Linked DNA regions of Homo sapiens: region 2 is linked to region 1. The links are contacts of gene promoters, found by promoter capture Hi-C in blood cells and fetal thymus (Javierre and others, 2016). All regions are on one chromosome and are shown on one strand. The core of a region is centred on a gene start or on the middle of the fragment in contact, and the rest is flanking DNA. Distances in the headings are between cores, read along the strand shown.

Region 1 (5,435 bases), core at 743-3,242:
AGTGCAGTGGTGTGATCTTGGCTCACTGCAACCTCCGCCTCCTGGGTTCAAGTGATTCTCCTGCCCCAGCCTCCCTAGTAGCTGAGATTACAGGAGCGCACCACCACGCCCAGCTAATTTTTGTATTTTTAGTAGAGACAGGGTTTCGCCGTGTTGGCCAGGCTGGTCTCCAGCTCCTGGCCTCAAGTGATCGGCCCGCCTTCACCTCCCAAAGTGCTGGGATTACAGGTGTGAGCCACCTCGCCCGGCCCGAAAGTGCCATTTCATCGGGTTGTTTTGAGGATTAAATATGTTAATCCTTATGTGAGGTACTTAGAATAGCCCCTAACATATATTAATCTCTCAATAAAAGTTAGCTATTGGCCGGGAGAGGTGGCTCACACCTGTAATCCCAGCACTTTGGGAGGCCGAGGCCGGCAGATCGCAAGGTCAGAAGTTCAAGATCAGCCTGAGCAACATGGTAAAACCCTGTCTCTACTAAAAACACAAAATTAGCCAGGCACTTGCCTGTTATCCCAGCTACTCGGGAGGCTGAGGCAGGATAATCGCTTGAACCCAGGAGGCGGAGGTTGCAGTGAGCCAAGATCACGTCACGGCACTCCAGCCTGGGTGACAGAGTTTGGTGAGCTTGGATAAGTCATTTCTCCTCTCTGAGCCTCAGTCTCTTCAGCCGTAAGTGTGAAAAATAATAAAACCTCCCCCAAAGATTGTCATGGGGATTATGACAAAGCAGCTAATGGCATTTTGAAAAGTGCTGTAGCAACAAAATATGGAACTATCACCAACAAAATCCCCCCTTTAGGTAATAAAAACCTTTTACCGGGAGATGGGCCTTGGGTTTTCAGACCCACTACTGACTTGACAGGCAGAGGATGCAGTTCCAAATGTGGATTTGGAGCTGGGCTTTGGGCATCTCTCTCCCCCCTCAGCTCCTGTTTCCTTACTCATTAAGTGGGGGGTCATTCCTGCTGGACGCCTGTCTAGGGTCCTTGTTTGGGGGCGGTCAAAGGAGATCAGAGAGCACAGACGGGAATGTGCTTTGCAAACATGAAAGAGGGCTAGAAAGGAGGAGGAGGGACTTGGGGAAGGTGGCCAGCCAAGGGGGGAAAGGAACCTTTGGCCTGAGCACTGGTCTTAGTCTGGGCTGGAGAGTTTAGTTTGCCTGCTGGGGAGAGGGGAGGTGTCTCCTATGAGGTAGGGTTTCACCTTGAGACATAAGGTGTCAGAGAAGAAACTCTGATGGAAGAAGCTCTAAGAGGCTCCAAGTGTGGGCAGAGAAGGAAGCGGGCCAAAGGACCTGGGCTTGGCCCTGGAATCAGCCCCTCATCACTGTCTTCCCAGGCAATCCCATCTGCCATGAAAGGACCTTGGCAGAGGCAGCTCCAGTGGGCTCCAGGGTCACCTTCATGACAAGACTTGCCGCCACAGGCTCACCTGCACATCTATAGCACCAATGCCCCCACCCTTAGGCTGCAGATTCCTGGTCTCGCCCCCAGGGAAAGCAGGCTTGACACCACCCAGCACCCAGACCAAGACAGGTCTCAGCCTGCTACAGAGGGAAAAAAGCAAGTTGACTAGAACCCTGTTCTGCCTTCCCATTCAGACTGTCAGAGCATCTGCCACAGCCCAGGGAGGGGGCTGATCCCACATACGGAGCCCCCACCCCAGGCCTTTGGAGGAAGCCTGGGGATCAGGAGGCCTTGTTTGGAGTCCTGGCTCTGCCCAAGCTCACAGTGCTTCCACAGCCAATCACCTAACCGGGCTGGGACTGTTTGACCATCTGTAAAATAAAAGGAGCTGGACTTGGTTCACAGGTCTCCACAGCGCAGGACTGTGATCAGGAAAGAGTTAATGGAGGCCAGGATCTGCCTCAGGAAGGCGAGGGTTAATTTGGGGGGCGGGGGGTGGAGGCTTTCTCTGCTTTTCCTGTGGAGAGTGAGGTTTGGCTGCCACCAAAGTTACTTCTAGTCCTTGCTGTCCACTCCTGCCCTCAGTCTGGACCTGCCCAAGGACCCCTGCAATTAGGCCTCCCATGCAGAGGTGAGTGTACCCTGAGCCCAGGGCTGGGGTAAGAAGGAACCCAGGGGCCTGAGGGCAGGGAGACTGGTGCCAAACTAGTGAGCCTAAAAGATGGCCCATGCCCAGAGCAGAAGCCTTGGGCAGAGTTGAGACCACAAGTTTCAGGACTGGGAGAAGGCAGGCAAAGGAATGGAGGGCCCGAGGCTGCCTGCCAGGCTTCTAGGGCGGGATGTCTGAGGTCCGGCCTCCAGGCTAGCCCAGAAGGCAGGGAAGAGGCTGTGGATGACAGACTATTTTGGTCCTTGTGATTAGGAACTTTTTATAGTCTCCCTGCTCAGGGCTGGGGAGAAGAGGAGAGGACAGAGGGCACCCATGGGGTCAGACAAGCAGTGCCTTCCTGGGACCTTGGAATCTGACCCACTGCCAAGGAGACTCCCTGGGAGACAGGGAGGGGGACACTGCCAGACTCTCCTTGGTTCCCAGGCCTCAACTACCTATGAGCAGACTGACTACACACTAGATGCTGGGTGCAGGGGTGGGCTGGACCTGGCAGGGTCTCTGCCCCAAGGCCTCTCACAGACTCCTTCCCCACTTCCCTGGCTAATTCTGTTCCTTTGTTGTCCCCAGATCCAAGGTCCCTCAGCCTCCAGGACTCAGGGGGAGTAGGGGAAGATAGGGGTGGGGTCGGGTGTGCAGGGCCATGTGGGTGGCCCATTCTGTTACTGCCAAGAGAACTGTCAGCTCTTGATTTACAACCCCTCCTCGCTCCTTGCCCCAGCAGAAGGGAGGTGGAAAAGGGTCATGAGGTCTTAGGATAAAAAAGGGACAAGGACCCTGGGGGCAAATTTCTGGGAGTGGGAGCGCAGGTTATTAGGAAGAATTAGTGGAAGGAACTTTTTAGTGAGGCAAGGGGCCCATTTCTAACGGAAATTGCTTGGTTTTATAGCAGCGGGAATACACGCAAAATATCAGTGAGTTCTTTTTTTTTTTCTTTTTTTTTTTTTGAGACGGAGTCTCGCTCTGTTGCCCAGGCTGGAGTGCAGTGGTGCGCGATCTCGGCTCACTGCAACCTCCGCCTCCCAGCTTCAAGCGATTCTCCTGCCTCAGCTTCCCAAGTAGCTGGGATTACAGGTGTGCGCCACCCCGCCTGGCTAATTTTTGTATTTTCAGTAGAGATGGGGTTTTGCCATGTTGGCCAGGCTGGTCTGGAACTCCTCACCTAAGGTAATTCACCCACCTCGGCCTCCCAAAGTGCTGGGATTACAGGCATGAGCCATCGCGCCTGGCCTCAGTGGGAAGTTCTGATAGGCAAGTGAGAGATCCAATCTGAACTGCAAGGCAAGAAACCTGGGTGACAAAGCAAGACTCCGTCTAAAGAAAAAAAAAAAAGAAACCTGGGTTCCAGTCCTGGCTCCTAACTCTCAATAGGACCTGAGCAAGCCCCCCTCCTCTCCAAGCCAGTTTCCTCTTCATGAAATGGAAATGCAAAGGTTAAACAAGGTGATGTTTACAGTTTGGCATTCTGCGATCCCCTTGGCAGGGGCAGAGTAGCTGGCAGTAGCTGATAGGGCCTGGGGACCACCTCCCTCTCCTGCCCCGATGGCCCTGCTGGGCCTGGGCAGGGCAGTTGGCTGCAATTACTGGAGGCTCCTACCCTGTGGTTATATCCCCGACCTCGGTGTTTGGGGGCGGGAAGGGTGGGCCCTGCTGGAGCCAGCCTGTGGCTGGGAGCCTTCTTGTCTTGGGCTCAAAGCTGCTGGGTTGGGAAGAGGTATTTTTTCCGGTTGAAGCCACTTTCAGGAATTGGGCCGGGACCAGCCCTGTTTCCTTTTCCAAGTGTCCTGCTTGCTAAGGCCTGCTTGCACGACCCTGTGGCCAGATTGGGGCACCTTCAAAGGGGAATATGTTTCTGAGTGGCCAGAGAGACCCCACTCAATGTCTCTGAAGGACAGGGAAAGGGGATGGCCTGAGCCTCTGCTCCCTGGATGTGGCACCGGCTAACCTGGATGGGAGAGGGTGGCTGACTGATCCTATACTGAGGAATGCCGGCAGGAGAGGACCAGGGGCATTTCCTACCCTTCCCCTGACCTTCCTCTCTCCCTGCAGGTCAGTGAGAGCCCAAGCCAATTGCTCTAGGCCCCGTGGCTGGCTACTTATGGGGCACTGTCCTGACCAGCTCTGCTAAGATGCTCCTGGCCCCTCCCTCCACCCCGTCCAGAGGACGGACCCCCAGCGCCGTGGAGAGGCTGGAAGCCGACAAAGCCAAGTATGTCAAGACGCACCAGGTGATAGCTAGGCGACAGGAGCCAGCCCTGCGTGGGAGTCCTGGGCCGCTCACGCCGCACCCCTGCAACGAGCTGGGGCCCCCTGCATCGCCCAGGACGCCCAGGCCGGTCCGCCGGGGAAGCGGCAGGCGGCTGCCGAGGCCTGATTCCCTCATCTTCTACCGCCAGAAGCGGGACTGCAAGGCTTCGGTGAACAAAGAGAACGCCAAGGGCCAGGGTCTGGTGCGGCGCCTCTTTCTGGGTGCCCCGCGGGACGCTGCCCCGAGCAGCCCGGCCTCCACAGAGCGACCTGCGGCTTCAGGGGGTTGGGCTGCGCCCCAGGATGCCCCGGAAGCGGCGGGAAAGCGGGCGCTGTGTCCCACGTGCTCGCTGCCCCTGTCGGAGAAGGAGCGCTTCTTCAACTACTGCGGCCTGGAGCGCGCGCTGGTGGAGGTGCTGGGCGCAGAGCGCTTCTCCCCGCAGAGCTGGGGAGCCGACGCCAGCCCGCAGGCCGGAACTTCGCCGCCGCCCGGCTCCGGGGACGCCAGCGACTGGACATCCAGCGACAGGGGCGTGGACAGCCCGGGCGGCGCGGGCGGCGGCGGCGGCTCGGAGGCAGCGGGCTCGGCGCGGGACCGGCGCCCCCCGGTGTCGGTGGTGGAGCGCAACGCGCGCGTCATCCAGTGGCTGTACGGCTGCCAGCGCGCCCGCGGACCGCCGCGCGAGTCCGAGGTGTGACCGCCGCGGCTCCGGACTGGCCCCGGGACTGGCCCCGGGCACGGAAAAGGACACCCCTCTTCTGGCGCGCTGGGTGCCTTTGCGTAAGCCCTTCCTTCTGGAACTCAGTTTCGCGTCTGAACCTTGGGGAGGTGGAACAAGTTGCTGCCGAAGGCCCTTCCCTGCTCCCGCGGCGAAGGGGGAGGGAGAGGCCTCTTGGTCCCTGTGGAGACCCGGTCTGGGGAGTCACGATTGGGGTGGGAGATGAGCAAACCTGCTGAATAAAGTTAAAACGTTATTTAAATGGGGAGCTGAGGAAGGAGCAAACGGGTTTTCGCGGTTAAACCCGTGGGTTTTGGAATGTGTGTTCCCGGCTGTGTGATCCTGGGCAAGAACTTGACCTCCCTGGACGCAGCGGCACCCCTCGGTTATTAA
Region 2 (5,588 bases), core at 2,119-4,618, 190 kb after region 1:
TCCTGTGGGGTCACCTCTTTTCTGCCTCCCCACAACCCGCCATTCCAAGGATCCCACATCCTCCCTATTAACCTCCACCCGCAAGGAGCTGGCGCATAGAGGATGCTCACACTTGTTCCCAACCCCCAAGGGCCTCATCACCCTGTCCCAGGAGCTTGGTGCTCATCACCCGCCTTCCTCAGCTCCCAGGATCTTGGAGCCCCCACACCCTTTGGAATCCACAGTACAAACCTCCCACAGTAGGGATAGGGATAGGGAGATTGAGGCCCAGAGAGATGTGGCTTGCACAGGTCAACTGAACCAGACTTCAGACAGAAGCCTCTGCCCCCAGACTCTGACTCCCAGCACCACTCTCTTCACACCACTCAAGCCTTGACCCAGGTGAGGCCAGGCACCTCCCTTGCCCACCCGAGGCCTCACTTACCCACCCCTCCAGGGGCAGGGAACAGGCAAGCTTCTCCGTTGGGGATGATCTTTCACTGCAAAGCAGGGGCAACTGTCCTGGCACCTTCCTGAGCCCCGGTGCCCCATGGGGCAGCAGAGCAGATAGTTTTGTGCCCAGCGGTTCCGGGGTGGAGGCCTCCTTGGCGGTAGGCACCAGACTGCCGAACAGAAGGCTGCCTCCAAGACGGGAAGTGGGCCTGCTGCCTCCCTGCAGTTCCAATCCCAGCTCTGAGTGGGGGCCCTTGGTTCCTGCTACATGCTTCTTCATCATCTCCAGAGGAGAGCAGGAGACCTGGGTGGGTCTGGCAGGGTGGAGGTCCCTGGAGGGGCTGGGCCCAGCTTTCTCCTGCCTGCGCTGGAGCTTCTCATCGTCACTCAGATAGGGGTTCTCTGGTTCCTCCTCCTCCTCCTCCTCTTTCTCTTCCAGTGAAGGCACCTCCTGGGGTCCGGGGCCCAGCACCCATGGCCCCAGCTGGTCCTCCTCAATGGCAGGCAGCGTGGCGTACATGGACAGGTAGGAGGAGCGAGGGGCTCGTGGCAGCCGGTGAGTGCGGAGGATCTCAGGGGGCTCCATGCTCCGCAGCGTATCCAGGAATATCTCCAGGTCAGCGGCCAGGGCCACCTCATCCTCCTCCCTTGATGTCTCTGTGCACGTCTTGCCCTCGGTGGGATCAGAGACAAGCTGGGACTCCGTGCTGGCCTCTGCTCCTGTTGGCACTGGGGCAGGGGTGCCTCCTGGGCTGGGGGACACCCTGTCCACTGAGGAAGATGGGGCAGGGAGAGCATCAGGGTCCTGCACAACCTCTTTCTGGGTGAGAGATGAGATGGGGCTCCCTTCAGAGTCCTGGACCCCCTTATCCTGTTTGGGGAGTGAGGTGGCAGGAGCAATTGGGCCTTGAACAGTCTCTTCCTTGGTGAGGGGCGGGGCAAGGCTGCCTGCAATACCCTGGACAGCCTCTTTTTGGATGCTACTGCTGCCTTTTGGGCCCTGGACAACCTCAGTTGACTTGGGGGACAAGGCAGCAGGAGCACCAGACCCCTGCACCACCTCCTTCTGGGTGGGAGATGAGGCAGCAGGAGCACAGGGGCCCTTCACAACCTCTTTCTGGGTGGGCGATGAGGCAGCAGGAGCACCAGGGCCCTTCACAACCTCTTTTGGGGTGGTGGACAAGGCAGCAGGAGCACCAGACCCCTGCACCACCTCCTTCTGGGTGGGGGATGAGGCAGCAGGAGCACCAGGGCCCTTCACAACCTCTTTCCAGGTGGGAAATGAGGCATCAGGAGCACCGGGGCCCTTCACGACCTCTTTCCAGGTGGGGAACAAGGCAGCAGGAGCACTGGACCCCTGCACCACCTCCTTCTGGGTGGGAGATGAGGCAGCAGGAGCACCAGGGCCCTTCACGACCTCTTTCCAGGTGGGGGACGAGGCAGCAGAAGCACTGGACCCCTGCACCACCTCCTTCCGGGTGGGAGATGAGGCAGCAGGAGCACCGGGGCCCTTCACGACCTCCCTCTGGGTAAAGGGGAGGACAGGGACATTTTCAGAGTTCTGAACAAACTTATTCCTTGGGGACGATGGAGCAGAAAGACCTCCTGGGCTGGGGACATCCTTCCTTCTTGTAGTGGATGGAGCAGGAGGTTGTCCAGGGACTGTCACATGCTCGCTCCTCACCATGGGCAGGACGGTGGCAGCAGGGGGGTCCACGGGCCCGTCCTTTTTTTTAGGGGGCAGAACAAGGGGAGTGAGCCGGGCCCCGGGGTGAGTGGGCACCACAGGCTGCTTTGCAGGGTGAGTTAGGCCAGGAGAGGGGACATGGGTCTCGAGTCTGGGAGAGGAGGGGACTGATGCTTGACCCTGAGAAGTCTGGAGAGGGAGCTCAGTGGAACTGGGGGCTCCCAGCACCTGCCAGAGCTCACAGGCCCTGGCATCCGGGGCTCTGCCCTGGTCTCTGTCCGGACAGGCTGCAGGGGCATCCTGATTCTTAGGCAGGTGAGCACTGGCTGGGATGCCTGTAGAGGCCAGGGCAGAGCTGTCTTTAAGCTCTGCTGTCCCGGTCTCAGGCAGCTGCCTCAAGGCTGCCCCCACTGTGCTGCCCAGACCTGTGCTCCTTGGCCCGCCAGCCGTGGGCCTGGGCAGGTGACTGGCAGGGGGGCTGTGCCCAGCAGGCACGAGGTTACTTAGCACTTTCACGGCCTGGCTGCGGCTGGGCGAGCCTGGTGGGGAGCCCACCACCACTGGCGGCACCATGCGGGAGACCTGACGGCCCCGTGGCAGGGCCTCGCCTGAGGACACTGGCCTCACAGTCACAGAGCTGCTCATCCGCCGGTCCACATGACCTCCCACCACTGTGGTGGTCCGCACAGTGCGTGTCACTCGGTATTCCTCGAGGCTCCGGGAGCTACCACTGGTGAGACCTACACCTGGGTGGGGACTTGGCTCTCGGGGCCCAGGCAGGGGAACCAAAAGCTCAGTCCTGGCCATAGCTCCCACACATGGGGGCTCAGTCCTGGGAGCTTGGCGGCTGCCATCACTCTGGTCCACAGCCTCCTTCAGCCTCCCCTCAGGCCTTTTCTCCTTGGGAGGTGGTATGTACTTCTTGGAAAAGATGGGTCCATGGCTCTGGAAGTTCTTGGAGCCAGCTGTATCCCGAGGGCCCTGGCAATTCACAGTCTCTTCTTCCTGTGTTGCAAAGCCATTGACTTCCACTTCCTCTCGACGGCTGAACTCAAACATCTCCTTCTGCGGGGCTTCCATCTGGGCCCCTGACACCAGGGACACCTTGTGAAAACCATGTTTGATCTCTTCCTGGGTGGGGGGCCGCTGCCGCCATGTCAATGTGGCACTTACCACTCGGGCCTTGGCCCGGGCCATGGGCCCACCTGCCTCCTCCATGTGGGGCCCTGGCAACCTGTCTGGAGGTGTCCTTGTCCCACTGTGGTCCAGCTCCCTGCAGAGGAATAAGAAAGATGAGGGTCAGAGGGTGGTGAGAGTGGCTTCCTAAAGTGCAGAATAACCACCCCTACCCAAGTCAGGCTGGGAACCTCAGGCAAATCGCTTGGCCTTTTTGGGCCATTGCTTTCTCATCTGTGAAATGGGCATGGTAGTCTCAGCTCTGATTTGGTTGATCAGAGCCCCTCATCCATCCCTCTCCCTGACTTTCAGGTGATCTCCTAGGTCAGGGTCCTTCAAAGGTGAAGCTGAGGCCTGAGCCCAGAAGGAGAGAAAAGGAAGAAGGCAGAAGGGAAGATGCAGCTGACCCACAGGTCTATAGGGGGGCTGGGACTCTGCCCACAGAGCCCTAGGTCTAGTCCCCCAGGAGCTGAAAACTAGAAAGCCGAAAACTGGGCAAGCGTTGTTCTAACTCTGTTCAGGGAAGATGGGCTTTGGCCTCAAGCAGAGCTGGGTTCCTTAGTTGCTCACTAACTGGCCATTTCTTCTGTTCAAGCATCAGGGTCCTCAGCCACAAAACTGGAGTCTTGCCAGAGTCCAGTAAGAGAAACAATGAAACCTCCCCCTGCGTTTTTTTTTTTTTTTTTTTTTTTTTGTGAGACAGAATCTCACTCTGTTACCCAGGCTGGAGTGCAGTGGTATGATCTTAGCTCACTGCAGCCTTGAACTCCTGGGCTCAAGTGATCCTCCTGCCTCAGCCTCCCAAGTAGCTGGGACTACAGGCACACGCCGCCACACCCAGCTAGTTTTTATTTATTTATTTATTTTTATTTTTATTTATTTATTTTTTTTGAGACAGAGTCTCGCTCTGTCACCTAGGCTGGAGTGCAGTGGCATGATCTCGGCTCACTGCAAGCTCCACATCCCTGGTTCACGCCATTCTCCTGCCTCAGCCTCCCCAAGTAGCTGGGACTACAGGTGCCCTCCACCACGCCCAGATAATTTTTTTGTATTTTTTGTAGAGACGGGGTTTCGCCGTGTTAGCCAGGATGGTCTTGATCTCCTGACCTCATGATCCACCCGTCTTGGCCTCCCAAAGTGCTCGGATTACAAGTGTGAGCCACCGTGCCCAGCCCCAGCTAGTTTTTATTTTGTACTTTGAGGTCTTGTTATGTTGCCCATGCTGGTCTCGAACTCCTGGGCTGAAGTGATCCTCCCACCTTGGCCTTCCAAAATGTTGGGATTATGGATATATGCCACTACTGTGCCTGGCCTAACTTTTTATCTTTTTATTTTAATTTATTTTATAAGACTGAGTCTTGCTCTGTTGCCCAGGTTGAAGTGCAGTAGCTCACTGTAGCCTTGAACTCCTGGGCTGAAGTGATCCTTCTGCGTTAACTCTCCAAGTAATTGGGACTACAGGCACATGCCACCACACCCAAAATGCTCGCCTTATAACCTAAATTGCTGGCTCATCAACTTTCTGCTGTCACCTTGGAGATTTGTGACCAAATGTTAGCTGGTGTGCACACGTGTGTATGGGCATGAGCACCTGCTGATGGTCTCCAGAGCACAGGGGCAGGTCTGTGTGCAAGTGTAGGTCTAAATGGAGCCTCTCAGAGCTGGATGCAGTGGCTCACACCTGTAATCCCAGAACTTTGGGAGGCAGAGGTGGGAGGATTGCTTGAGGCCAGCAGTTCTAGACCAGCCTAGGTGACATAAAAAGACTCTACAAGTCTCTACAAAAAATTAAAAGAATTAGCCAGCATGGTGGTGTGTGCCTGTAGCCCTAGCTACCCTGGAGGCTGAGGTGGGAGGATCACTTGAGCCCAGGCTGCAATGAGCTATGATCGTGTCACTGCACTCCAGCCTGAGTGACAGAGAGATCTTATCGCTAAGAAAAGTTATCATTATTTTTTGAGACAGAGTCTCGCTCTGTCGCCCAGGCTGGAGTGCAGTGGCACGATCTCAGCCTACTGCAACCTCCTCCTCCCAGGTTCAAGCGATTCTCCTGCCTCAGCCTCCCGAGTAGCTGGGATTACAGGCATGTGCCACCATGCCCAGCTAATTTTTGTATTTTTAGTAGAGATGGGGTTTCACTATGTTGCCCAGGCTGGTCTCAAACTCCTGACCTCAAGTGATCCACCCGCCTTGGCCTCCCAAAGTGCTGGGATTATAGACGTGAGCCACTGCGCCCGGCCTAAAAAAAGTTTTTAATAAAAACAAAAATAAGGCTGGGTGCGGTGGCTCACGC

The links. The method cuts DNA at HindIII sites, captures the fragments that hold promoters and counts their contacts. A CHiCAGO score of 5 or more calls a contact.
Region 2: a fragment that was not itself captured here is called in contact with the fragment with the promoter of FAM110D in region 1 in 1 of 17 cell types (neutrophils); the score reaches 5.3 in neutrophils.

The regions. Positions count from the first base shown.
Region 1 is chr1:26,157,087-26,162,521 of GRCh38, forward strand. FAM110D (family with sequence similarity 110 member D) reads left to right here and starts at 1,993. Exons shown (of 2, transcript NM_024869.3): 1 at 1,993-2,040; 2 at 4,126-5,435. The coding sequence starts at 4,206. The coding sequence ends at 5,021. RefSeq lists an enhancer at 1-267. The HindIII fragment of the contact is 9,541 bases long and covers 1-5,435 here.
Region 2 is chr1:26,343,321-26,348,908 of GRCh38, forward strand. CRYBG2 (crystallin beta-gamma domain containing 2) reads right to left here. Exons shown (of 20, transcript NM_001039775.4): 2 at 425-3,392. The coding sequence starts at 3,337. Among named protein-coding and RNA genes, the nearest start is that of CRYBG2, 8.0 kb to the right of the region's middle. RefSeq lists an enhancer at 3,007-3,760. The HindIII fragment of the contact is 5,833 bases long and covers 453-5,588 here.